2 separate regions of the Homo sapiens genome follow, and region 1 is linked to region 2. Evidence: promoter capture Hi-C in 16 types of primary human blood cells and fetal thymus (Javierre and others, 2016). All regions are on one chromosome and are shown on one strand. Each heading gives the region's core, a stretch centred on a gene start or on the middle of the fragment in contact. The rest is flanking DNA. Distances are from core to core; before and after follow the strand shown. Region 1 overlaps DLGAP4 (DLG associated protein 4). Region 2 holds the start of AAR2 (AAR2 splicing factor).

Region 1 (6,485 bases), core at 1,625-4,124, 210 kb before region 2:
AGGCCAAGCGCAGTGGCTCACGCCTGTAATCCCAACACTTTGGGAGGCCGAGGCGGGCAGATCACTTGAGGTCAGACGTTCAAGACCAGCGTAGCGAACATGATGAAACCCCACCTTTACTAAAAATTTGAAAGTTAGCTGGGTGTGGTGGCATATGCCTGTAATCCCATCTACCTGGGAGGCTAAGGCAGGAGAATGGCTTGAACTCAGGAAGTGGAGATTGCAGTGAGTTGAGATCCTGCACTTCAGCCTGGACAACAGAGCAAGACTCTGTCTAAAAAAAAAAAAAAAAAGATTTACAAGAAAAGGAGGAACTCAAAAGAAATAGCTAGGCCAAGTGCCGTGGCTCACACCTGTAATCCCAGTACTTTAGAAGGCCAAGGTGGGAGGATCACTTGAGCCCAGGAGTTCAAAACCAGCCTGGTAGAACATAAGGAGACCCCATCTCTACAAGAAATTTAAAAATTAGCCAGGCATGGTACTGCATGACTCTGGTCTCAGCTACTCGGGAGGCTGAGGCAGGAGGATCGCTTGAGCCTGGGAGGTTGAGGCTATGGTGAGCTATGACCATGCCACTGCACCCATGCCTGGGTGACACATGGAGATCCTGTCTAAAAAAGTAAAAAATAGCCGATCTTCAAGGAGCGTTTAGAGGAAAGGGAAGGAGACCAGAACTTGTTTAGTTGGAAAATAAATTTGTCAACTCCAGCCCCTCCAGAGAGTAAACCATTCTCAAATTAAGATACAGCCTCGTTAGGCATGGTGGCTCATGCCTGTAATTCCAGCACTTTGGGAGGCCAAGGCAGGCAGATCACCTGAGGTCAGGAGTTTGAGACCAACCTGACCTACAGGGAGAAACCCTGTCTCTACTAAAAATACAAAACTAGCTGGGCATGGTGGTGCATACCTGTAATCCCAGCTACTTGGGAGGCTGAGGCAGGAGAATCACTTGAATCCAGGAGGCGGAGGTTGAGATGAACTGAGATCACGCCATTGCACTCCAGCCTGGGCAACAAGAGCGAAACTCAAAAAAAAAAAAAAAAATACAGCCTCAGGGCAAAGATGAAACCAAGGTCATGGCCAGTTAAGATGCCGTATGTGGACAGGATCAAATCAAAGTGTGGTTATAATATCTCTTATTAACACTCTAAAAATAGTAGAGCCAGGCGTGGTGGCTCACACCTGTAATCCCAGCACTTTGTGAGGCCGAGGCGGGTGGATCACTTGAGGTCAGGAGTTCGACACTAGCCTGGCCAACATGGTGAAACCTTGTCTCTACTAAAAATACAAAAATTAGCCAGGCATGGTGGCACACGCCTGTATTCCCAGCTACTTGGGAGGCTGAGGCATGAGAATCGCTTGAACCTGGGAGGTAGATGTTGCAGTGAGCTGAGATCGCGCCACTGCACTCCAGCCTGGGCGACAGAGAGCGAGACTCTGTCTCAATCAATCAATCAATCAAGATACCAGGTAGCAGATGCTACTATCTGGTCAAAAGGGCCTACAGAAAGCTTAAGGGCATGGTCCCACAGAAGCCCAAAGTAGGCATCAAGTCAAGAGAGAGGCATGACTCAAAAACAATTATGGGTATGGCTTTTGGCACTCGAAGTTACAGGGAATCAAATACATAGAAAACTCATCAAATGTTTGAGGTAGGTGCATGGGTAAAATTGACCAGCTTAGGCTAAAGGGAGTAAGACCGTTCAAGATGCAAAAGACATCTAGCTCCCTAACTTTCTTTAGGAAGGAAGCAAGCTAAGAAAGGTGTTCCGTTCCCCAAGGCTATATTCTCCAAGTTCTCTTTAAAAGTGGCCAAAAATGCTGATGGAGAAGGAAGGGCTTTCAGAGAGCAGAACCAAGAGCTGTGGAGAACAGTAGACTAGAAGATCAACCCCAGGGAGAACTTGTACCTAATCAACAAATCTCAACGCATTTGCCCAACAGTTGCTCAGAAGGACTTCAGAATTGCCATGGATCAATAAGTCTCTGCATCTCTACTTTCCCCTTTTCTGAACAGGAGTATTAACTGCAGTTCTCCTGTCCCTGTTTCACCAGTGTATGCTGTGTGGTTGGGGAGGGTTAGACTGTAGGGTAGATAAGTAGTTTCTTTAAAAAATTAAAAGTCAATTGTTCGACAGAAGCCACATCCAGACCTGACATAGATCATAAGAGTCTGATCCAATCTCATGATTGGATGAGACTTTTGGGGGTCTTGGGAATAAAAGTTTTCTACCTGGGAAGGGCATGAGTAAATACAGCCAAGACAGTGGATCATGGAACATAGAATTGTTGACCCTGATTCTTTTTTTTTTGAGACGGAGTCTCACTTTTGTTGCCCAGGCTGGAGTGCAATAGTGTGATGTTGGCTCACTGCAACCTCCACCTCCCGGGCTTAAGCGATTCTCCTGCCTCAGCCTCCTGAGTAGCTGGAATTACAGGTGGGCACCACCACGCCTGGCTAATTTTTGTATTTTTAGTAGAGACAGGGTTTCGCCATGTTGGCCAGGCTGGTCTCAAACTCCTGGCCTCAAGTGATCCACCTGCCTCGGCCTCCCAAAGTGCTGGGATTACAGGCATGAGCCACTGCGCCCACCCAGACCCTGATTCTTTACCTCTCCCTGTGGCCACACCCTTTGCCATATGAATATAGTTTCCTACACAAAGGTGAGAAGATACTTCTCCATCCCTTGTCTATGAGCTCAGTCATATGACTTGTGTTGCCAATAGGATGTTAGCAGGTATGACATGAGCAGAGGCCTTGAAATGTGCTTGTTTGGTTAGTTAGGCTTGCTCTTCTGTCTTCTGCCATCACCATAAGGAGAACATGCCCTGGCTAGACCACTGATCCCAGGAGGACTCTTTGGTCCCAGGAGGAGGATGAAAGACATGTGGAGCAGAACTGTCCCAACTGACAAACTTGGGAGCAAGAAATAAATGTGAATTGTTGTATTACACTGATTTTGTGGTTGTTTGTTATGCAGCATAATTGTAGCAAGAGCTGACCAATACAGGGACCCAGGCAGTATTGGGACATGTAGCCCATCCCCTATCTTTAGTCCATTCATGAGTGACTGGGGTTGGAAAAACTGGTGAGGGATGGTTTATTTGAAGAGAATTGCTAGGGGTGCTGTCTATCCCTCCAGGCCCACTTCATGCTTAGAGAACTTCGCATGGGTGTGAGGATGTGGGGGATGTTATCCTTCACCCACGGCCCCTTTGGAACTGTAGCAGAGTGCCTGGGACAGCCTGGGAGAGCTCTTCTGGATGTGGAGGCCACAGAACCTGGGCCTCAGCTCTTGTTTGGAGACCTTGAAGGTGGAGAGGCTGGCAGGGCTACCGGTAACAGCAGGACTAGAAGGAAGGCTGTAGCGGGCCAGTCTGTATTTTCGGAGGCTGTAGCAGACCAGTCTATATTTTCAGAGTCCCAGAAGGCAAAGGCCCTTGTTTTCAAATACATTAAGTGGTCACCAAGAGGGAAAATAGGGCTGGAGTTGTCTTCAGAGGATTCTACCCAAGATGCCTGACTAGCAGGGCCAGGTGCCCTAGCAGAAAGAAGCTGAGTGGCGAGGAGGCAGACTGCCAGATGGAGAAGCTGAGGGGGAATAAGAAACAGTGAGGTGAATGAAGATTGCCCATGCTGGGAAAGATGGCACTGGGGACCCTGCAGGGTGCGAGAAAGAGCCAGTATGTGGCATCAGAGAGTCCCGATGCCAGACGACACCTCCCTGGCTACCATCCCTTCCCAAGTGGAGGAACCAGAAACAGAGGTGAACAAGGAACAGAGAAGACATTTATTTACATCAAACACCGGTTGAGCACTTGAAGCAGTGCCTCTCTTCCTACAACAATCCAACCCCAATTGCTTTTTTTTTTCTTTGAGACAAGGTCTTGCTCTGTCACCCAGGCTGGAGCGCAGTGGCTCAATCTTGGCTCATTGCAACCTCTACCTCCCGGGTTCAAGCAATTCTCATACCTCAGCCTCCCAAGTAGCTAGAACTACAGGTGTGCACCACCACACCCGGGTAATTTTTGTATGTTTAGTACAGATGGGGTTTCACCATGTTGGCCAGGCTGGTCTCGAACTCCTGACCTCAAGTGATCTGCCCACCTTGGCTTCACAAAGTGCTGGGATTACAGGCATGAGCCACCATGCCCAGCCCCCAATTGTTTTTGATTTTCAGGAAGCTCAGAGTCAGGTCTGAGAACCAACAATAACAGCTACCACTTACCAAGCTTCTACCACAAGAAAGTCCCTGCCTAAACATGTCCTATGCACAGTCTTGTTTCATCTCCCTAAGAGATCCCTGGAGTCTGGCTTATGCCCTCAATTTATACATGGAGAAACTGAGGCTCAGGAAGGCGAACTAGCTTGCCAGAGTAAGCTCAAACCTCTCTCTACTATTGATAAACAATAAATTGTGCTGTTTTTCCTTGGTTTTGATTTTCTATTATTATTATTTTGAGACAAGGTCTTGGTCTGTCTCCTAGGCTGAAGTGCAGTGGTGTGAACACAGCTCACTTCACCTTTCATCTCCTGGGCTCAGATGTCCCTCCTGCTTCAGCCTCCTGAGTAGCGAGGACCACAGGTATATGCCAACCCGACCAGCGAATTTTTAATTTTTTTAGAGTCCGGGTTTCATCATGTTGCCCAGGCTGGTCTCCAACTCCTAGGCTCAAGTGATCTGCCTCGGCCCCCCAAAGTGTTGGGATTATAGGCGTGAGCCACTGCACCCAGCTAATTTTCTATTACGTCTTTTTTTTTTTTTTTGACCATCTTAATAATACTTAATAAGGTATACATGCGCCACGGTGGTTTGCTGCACTTATCAACCCATCATCTAGGTTTTAAACCCCACATGCATTAGATATTTGTCCTAATGCTCTCCCTCCCCTTGTCTCCCCCCCCCCCACCCCCCTGATAGGCCCTGGTGTGTGATGTTCCCCTCCCTGTGTCCTCATTGTTTACCTCCCACTTATGAGTGAGAACATGCAATTTTCTATTATTTCATGGCTTGCTCAGTTATACAGGGTCCCCTTTTTTCTCTGATCACATATGGGTTATCTTCAGATGATTTAGAACAAGAATCCAGGGCTGGGCATGGTAGCTCACGCCTATAATCCCAGCACTTTGGGAGGCCACGATGAGCAGATCCCTTGAGGTCAGAAGTTCACGACCAGCCTGGCCAACATGGTGAAATCCCATCTCTACTAAAAATACAAAAATTAGCCAGGCATGGTGGCATGTGTCTGTAATTCCAGCTACTTGGGAGGCTGAAGAATGAGAATTGCTTGAACCTGGGAGGCAGAGGTTGCAGTTAGCCAAGATCATGCCACTGCAGTCCAGCCTGGGTGTGGAGTGAGACTCTGTCTCAACAACAACAAAACACCCAAGAATCCAGAAGGTATTCCCTGATTGTGTATATGAGAGAAGCCTGTAAAACACATCCCTTTGAGAAGGCTCAGTGCAGACCCCACCCTCACTGCAGGCTTCTCTGCAGGTTCCAACCTGCCCTACAGGTTTGCCTACCTGAACTAATTCCAAGAGGCAGGTCAAGCTGCAGTAAGCCCTGACTATAGCAGGTGGCTGCTCTGAGCCAAGGAGCAACCAAGTACCCTACAAGCTCCAGCCCCTCCAATACCTCCCATGCCCCCCAGGGGTGGCATCTGCCTCTGGGACCCCCATTTGAGCTCCAGTGGCCAATTGGCTGGAAGTTCAGCTCCAAGGCCTCCTGCTTTTGCTCCCAACCATCCCCCTGGTGCGGGCCAGCCTGAGACAGATTCCTCCCTGTATCCTCCCAGGCTGGCCCTCCAGGTATGGTCCTTGGGGTCCCCTTGAAAAGAAAAAAAACCCCTTCCCTCATCACAGTACTCACTCGGAAGCGTGCGACTATTGCTGAGGCTGCCGGTACTGGGCGGTGGGGAGAGGGACTGCAGGGAGACACTGTCCTCCTCCTGCGAGCAGCCTGCCTGGATGGCACGCAGGTAGCTGTGGCTGCGGGAGCGGAAGTAGCTGGGCAGTGGCAAGTCAAGCGTCTCTGCCGCTGTGGACTCCGCTTCACTGCAGGCTGACTCGCAGGCCGCCTCATACTGGTCACTCAGCTCTGCCTCCCGTACCTGTCCAGGCAAAGGCAGGCATGAGGGAGCTGGCTATCTTGCCCATCCTGGGGGGAGCGGTTCTTGGTGGTGGGCTCAGGGCAGGGCTGGACAGTCTGTGGGGTCTGACCTCAGCCCACCCCTGTCCATCTCACTCAGCGTATGGGATGGGGAGATGGAGCCCTTAAGAAAGAAACAGTCCTACCTCTCTGGGCCTCAATTTTCCCATCTCTATAATGAGGACAAAGTTGGAATATCTCAGGATATTAACTGTGATAAAAATCAGGGTCCACACTGATTAATAGATTTCAAGGTCACATCTGAATTTAGTGTGAAAGAGGTCTATAATCAATTAGCAATGTCTGTCCTGAATGTTGGAATGGGGGTGGCGG
Region 2 (6,783 bases), core at 2,838-5,337:
CAGGTCCATGCTGTGCTTGGTTATCTCAGCTGGCGTGGCACCCTCTGGGAACATCTGCGTGGGCAGCTCTGAGAAGCGGATCTCTGTCCCGGCTCTGGGCTTCATCTCTGGTAGCCGGGCCAGGCCCTCTTGGTAGCTTTTGCACTCAATGCCACAGCGGGGTAGATTCTGCCCCACGCGGTCCTTGGTGTGCTTCATGGAGAGCACAGGTAGCACATCGGAAAAGGCACAGATCTGTCGATTCTCGGGCTGTAGCTTCTCCACTGTGGCTTCGCTGATGAAGTTGGTGAGTGAGATCCACTTCTTCAGGGTGGCATATGGGTAAGGCCCCAGGAACTGGTCCAGCTCCTGGAGGTTGGCCCTCATGGCCTCCACCTCAGACTCTGGGGCTGGGGACAGGTCTACCTCTTCCCTGAGTGTGCTCCAGCGCAGCACTGTCAGCCCCCGCTGGTGCAGGCTAAGGAAGAAACCCATACGAGGGCCTACTTCCTTCGGATTAGCCTTGTCCACAGAGCTGTAGTGGAGGAAGTGGATGCCTGGAGGGATCATCTTCACGCCCCGGAACTTGGGCCCGACCTCCCAGGAGTTATAGTCAATCCCAAACTCTGTTCCCTTGGGCATGTTCAGGATGACCACAGTGGCCCCTTCAAAGAAGAGGCGCTTGGCTAGCTCAGGATCCATCTGCACGGCAGCCATGGGGCCAGTGGTGGGTGACCAAAAGAACCCTTTTTCTTTGATGAACAGCTGAGAAAGAAAGAAACCAGAGTTAATCAGAACGTGGGGGAAAGATGCTTCATTTGCTAAGCATTCTGTATGTGCCAGATATTGAGTTAGACCCCTGACATAATTATTTCCCTTAATCCTCATGACAACCCTGCATTGAGTTTACAGATGAGAAAAACGAGGATTAAAGGAAAGGATTTTTGTGTTTTGGCTTAACATGCAAGGACACTCACTTCACAGCTATAAGATACCAGTGAAAGAAAAGTGACATGCTCATGGTCATACCAGGACCCAAATTAGAATCTGGATACCCTGCCTGCAGGCCAGTGTTCTGTCCACCGTCCATTCTTAATATCTTCTCAGATCTCTTTCTCACAACAGAGGGTGAGGGTGGAAAATGCCTGGACAGGTCACTCTAAACTATATGCCTACATCATTTAAAACTACAATTCTGCCAAAAAACTATCCCAAAAGATTTGGAAAGATTAAATCAAGTACATATCCAGTTTCCCATAAGCCTCAGGGAAGGCCCAGAAATGGACAGACGGTAGCAAGTGGAGGCTCAGCATCTAAAGTTTGTTCAGGGTCTAGAGAGCTTTCCTACCACAAATCTCCCCTCTTCTTTCACTCATAAAAAACCTAAACTCCAGGGAGTGAAACAACTTCCCAAAGAGCCCACAATCAGTGGTGGCTCTGGACCATTCATCCAGAATGAATTCAGGTGGTAAAGCTAGCCTAGGAAGAGAAAGCTGGCCAGAAGAGAAAGAGCTTAGTACACTTATTTTACCTACTTCTGAATATCCCAGACATTGCCTCTGGGATATCGGCAAGAATGGTACCAACATGAACAAATGTAAACAAACCATTATGCAACCTTCTAGTCCTAAGATACCTACCTGACTAATTTAACAAATACTCACTGAGTGCCTGCATTGTGCCAGGATCTTTGCCAGGCCCCCAAAAAACATCACAGATTAAGACAGTCACTGCCCTCTAGGCAATTCCAATCTAGCCAAGACGTCAAAATTTCACACACAGAAAAACGAGCTGCCTGTTTAATTGTTTACTTTTTTTTTTTTTTTTTTTGAGACAGGGTCTCGCTCTGTCACCCCAGCTGGAGTGCAGTGGCGTGATCTCGGCTCACTACATCGTCCACCTCCCGGGTTCAAGCAATTCTTGTGCCTCAGCCTCCCAAGCAGCTGAGACTACCGGTGTGTGCCACCACACCTGGCTAAGTTTTGTATTTTTAGTACAGAGAGGGTCTCACCATGTGGCCTAGGCTAGTCTGGAACTCCTGACCTCAGTGATCTGCCCGCCTCGGCCTCCCAAAGTGCTGAGATAACAGGTGTGAGCCACCATGCCTGGCCCTGTTTACCCTTTTTACTTTAAATAAAGCAGTGCAGAAAGGAAGACCAATCCTTTTCCAAAAATAAGAGCACATTTTATCATTGTTACCTCAAAACCACCACAAATGACTCTTACCCTGAATCAGCACTTTGTGTTTCACCAAACTGCAAGTCACAATCCATTAGTGGATTAGGAAATCAATGTGAAGGTCTCAACCAGCATTATTTTTTAAACGAAAATAACAGAATTTTTGAAATATCACAATACATCATGAGTAGTAAAGCTAAGTACTGTTTTCTGGAGCTTTGTGTGTTTGTGTGTATACTTGGTTGTGCCATAAAATGTATTCGTTACTGTAGGTCACAGTCATAAAAGTTTGAAAGACTCTGCTCTAAATAATTCGTATCAACAGGCCGGGCGTGGTGGCTCACGCCTGTAATCACAGCACTTTGGGAGGCCGAGGCGGATGGATAATGAGGTCAGGAGTTTGAGACCAGCCTGGCCAATACTGTGAAACCCCATCTCTACTAAAAATACAAAAAAAATTAGCCGCGCATGGTGGTGTGCGCCAGTAGTCCCAGCTACTTGAGAAGCTGAGGCAGAAGAATTGCTTGAACCTGGGAGGCAGAGGTTGCAGTGAGCTGAGATCACACCACTGCACTCCAGCCTGGGGGTCTGAGCGAATTCCGTCTCAAAATAATAATAATAATAATAATAATAATAATAATAATAATAATAATAATACGTATCATCTTCCTATTTGTAATCCTGAATTCAGAAAGTATTTAATATTTGCTGAATGAACAGATATTCCATTTACAATAACAGCTCATCAATTAGCCATTTTCCCTTGTGACATCTGTGTGCTCCTCCTTGATAATGACGTTTCTTTCATGCTAATTCCACCAGTCTGTAATTCTATTCACTATATCTCCAGCAGCTGGCACAGGGCCTAGCACAGAGGAGATGCTAGGAAAACGTTTATTAAATATGCATAGAACTCTGCAGTCTACCAGCCCCTGTCACTGACAGCTCTGTGAGTTCCTCACAGTCCTGGAACACCTAAAGTCACATCCATCCACTTCTCTCCACCACCTCCCTAATCCAAGCTACCATCGTCCCTCACTCAGAGTGCTTGCTCCTCAACCCATTCTCCATTCAACAGCAGTAACCTTTTCAAAATGCCAATCTAATCACAACACCACCCATGTCAGCTTCTGAGTGGTTTCCCATATGGTTCTTGAAAAACCAGAATTCTTCCTATTACCTACAAAGCCTGCACGGTCTGACTCCTGGCAACCCCTTTAGCTTGTGTCACACAATGGTCCCCCACAAGCTCTCTGTTCCAGCCACAACGGCCTCTTTCAGAACCTGAAATTGGAGGCTGTCTCCATATAGAAAACTCTTCCCTCCCCACTTTGTCAAATCCTTTTTTCTGATCTCAGCTCAATATTCACCTCCTCAGTAAAGGTTCCTTGCCCTGGGGCTAGGTCAGGTCTCCTGTGATATAATCTGGGGTGCCTTGTACCTTTCCGTCTCAATGATCACAACTGCAGTTTTGGATGTTTGATTGAAGGCTGTCATCGCCACGAGACTTGAGTCCTGCTGTATCCCTAGCACAGATTCAACGCTTAGTAAACATTTATTTAATACAAGTATGATATCCATTTTGTAAACGAGAAACAAAGCCTCAGTTCGGGGAAAGACCTTACTGGAAGTCACGCAGAGAGTAGGGCAGAGCCAGGTCGAGTGCAATCAGGGTCTCCGGCCCCCAGGCTCTAAAGTTAAGAAAACCGCGACGTAACTCTGGCGACGGCTTCTCAGGAAGGGCCTCCAGAGACACCAGCGTCCCACAAACAGAGAACCAGCCGCCCCGGCGAGGTGGGCCTAGTTCAAGGCACTCCGTGACTCTGAGCCGAGAAGAGGGGCGGCCCAGCCACACATACACAAGGAATCAGGAAAGGAAAAAGAGGCCAGGAGGCCACACTCACCGCCTCGCCCCACGTTCCGGTACAGCGGAAACGCACCGGAAGTTCTCCAGCTTTGGCGTCTGACTGGAGCGACGGGGGAAGCGGTCCGGCAGAGCCCTGGGTCGCGGGAAGAATGGCCCGTGCCTGCAGGTTCCGCCGGATGCAAGGTTGCCTTTTGTTATTCTTAGTTTCTCGTTTTAGCTTCTGAATTGTGAACAACTTTCATTAACCTATGCATTTTATATCCCCGTCCAGAAACACAGCCACCAGCCATCTTACTTTGGGCTCAAGCAGTCATGGTCACTAAAGCACAGCCAAGGCTTGTACCAGTGGCTACTATTCAGAAGTAGCCAGTCAGGCGCTCGGTCACTGTCTTTGTCAGCCAGTCTCTATCCCGGTCACAGTGTCTCAGCTTCCAGTCACACTCAGCCCTCGGGGAGAGCCTCAGAAACCCAGCCACCAGCCCAGAGAGAACCAGCGTCAGCCTCCGCTGCTGCAGCAGCAGCGGTCGCCACCTCAGTCCCTCTGGCCATTATCACCCCGTGTCCTTCCTGCAGGCCAAGTCCTAACATCTCAGTCAGGCTATCAACGCACTAGGGAAGGAATCTGCCTGTCTTGTTCCTCACTGTTTCCCTGGAACCGAGCACAAAGCCAGGCACAAAAGCTCAGCTGAGTACATATATTATGCATTTAATTAATAATGATGATAATTTGGTATTAATAAATAACTATTTGTGGGTCTAACCCTGCACTATTAATCAGGGTTCCACCAAAGATACAGAGCCAGTAGGAGATCTATATTAAGTGATTTATTGCCAAGAATTGGCTTATGTGATTTTAGGGCAGGCCACTTGGGTATTTCTTTTTTTGAGACGCAATCTCACTCTGTCACCCAGGCTGGAGTGCAATGGCGCTATCTCGGCTCACTGCAACCTCCACCTCCTGGGTTCAAGCCATTCTCCTGCCTCAGCCTCCCAAGTAGCTGGGATTACAGGCGCCCACCACCGTGCCTGGCTAATTTTTGTATTTTTAGTAGAGACGGGGTTTCATCTTGTTGGCCAGGCTGGTTTCGAACTCCTGACCTCAGGTGATCTGCCCACCTTGGCCTCTCAAAGTGCTGGGATTACAGGCATGAGCCACCGTGCCCGGCCCACTTGGGTATTTATAATCCTTGCACTAACCCTTGTAAGGTATGTGTATTCCCAATTTGCAGAAGAGAAAACTGAGGTTCAAAGAGATGTTACACAGCCAGAGAATGGCAGAGCTAGAATGCAAACCAAGGGCTGTCTGTTCTTATCTCTTGTGCTGCTGCTCCTTAGCTTGTCTGTCACATTTCCTCAGTGACAGCTGGACACGCCAATCTGTCTCGGTCAAAATTTATCTCTTAGTGGGTTGCAGACTAGACCGGGCCCTGCAGTCATGGTTAATCACAATGAGCTGCTGCAGGATTAACCAGAGACAGCCTCCATCAGTCACAGTCATGCTTACCAATCTCAGCCTGTCCTGTCAAGTTTCATCTCCTGCATGAAGAAGCTCAGCTCCCTCTCCACCCCTCCCCACTCCCAGTCTTAAGTGCTGAGCTCTATGGTCTGGTCTCAAAGCTCCCTGTTTCAGTTGGGCTCACCGTCTTTTCAGAGACTCCAGGACACTGAACACTGGTTGTAGAAGCTGTAAATGGTGGCCTAGGAGTCCCACCTTGTGGGTCACATGTCCATTTAGATCAGAATTTCTCAACCTTGGCACTATTGACATTTGGGGCCAGATAAGTATTTGTTGTATGTGGCTGTCCTGTGCATTGTAGGATGTTTAGCAGCAACCCTGGCGTCTACCCACTAGAGCTAGTAGCACCCCTCAGTTGTGACAACCATTGCTAAATGTCCCCGGGGCGGGGGTTGGGGGTAAAGGAGGAGGGGTCATTTCCCCACTCTCAATGCAGTTGAAAAACACTAATCTGGGTGAACTTACCTTTGATTATTCGACAAAAGCCGAGTCAGGATGGTCCTTTATGGGAGACAGAAATATGGATCAGGGTGTATGGGGTCCTGAGGAATCATATGAAGACCCATTGTTTGTAAACCAAGTCCTATTCCAGAACCCTAGGGATAACAGATTGCTAAAGGAGACCTATAGGGAAAATTCAGAGAAGGATTCATAATGTTCCTCGCAGCAATTGCCTCTGACAAGAGACAGAAATCTGGAGAAGGCTGAAGAATCACTTTTCACTGCATAGTCTTTGTATCATTTAATGAATTACCTTTCCAAAGAAAATAAGTATTTAGTATTTGAAAGTATACGGAAATGCTCAGGATATATATACGTGTATATAGATATATATGTACATATATATACATATATGTACATATATATATTTTAAAGTATTTACAAAAGTATGTACAAGATGACCAACTCTGGAAAAATACATACACATGGAAAAGACTCGCTGGTGAGATTTGCAGCAATAAAGGTGGGCTGAGGTGAGTTGCTTGGTGGAATAAAAGGAAAGTGTGGTGTGTGCACCTCAGGTGGTCCAAGGGATGAGTTTAGGTTTTAAGTGCATTGTGGTTGTTAATTTTAATATTTTTGCATTTATTTTATGAAGACCTCCTTTCTTGGCAAATAACATAAGCTTTTCATTTGTGGAAGTAATATAGTTTCCTTTTTAAATGCATTTGCTTTTAACGTGAGTCAATTTATTTAGTTAGTTATTTTATTTTATTATTTTTTTGAGACGGAGTCTCTCTCT

What was found. The method cuts DNA at HindIII sites, captures the fragments that hold promoters and counts their contacts. A CHiCAGO score of 5 or more calls a contact.
Region 1: a fragment that was not itself captured here is called in contact with the fragment with the promoter of AAR2 in region 2 in 3 of 17 cell types (endothelial precursors, M1 macrophages and M0 macrophages); the score reaches 7.9 in endothelial precursors.

Annotation. Positions count from the first base shown.
Region 1 is chr20:36,446,326-36,452,810 of GRCh38, reverse strand. It overlaps DLGAP4 (DLG associated protein 4), which reads right to left. Exons shown (of 13, transcript NM_001365621.2): 7 at 5,874-6,114. Among named protein-coding and RNA genes, the nearest start is that of MYL9, 92 kb to the left of the region's middle. The HindIII fragment of the contact is 2,722 bases long and covers 1,514-4,235 here.
Region 2 is chr20:36,233,782-36,240,564 of GRCh38, reverse strand. It overlaps AAR2 (AAR2 splicing factor), which reads right to left and starts at 4,087. Exons shown (of 4, transcript NM_001271874.2): 1 at 4,062-4,087; 2 at 1-744. The coding sequence starts at 696. LOC105372602 (a long non-coding RNA gene) reads left to right here and starts at 4,099. Exons shown (of 3, transcript XR_936695.2): 1 at 4,099-4,207. The HindIII fragment of the contact is 9,166 bases long and covers 1-6,668 here.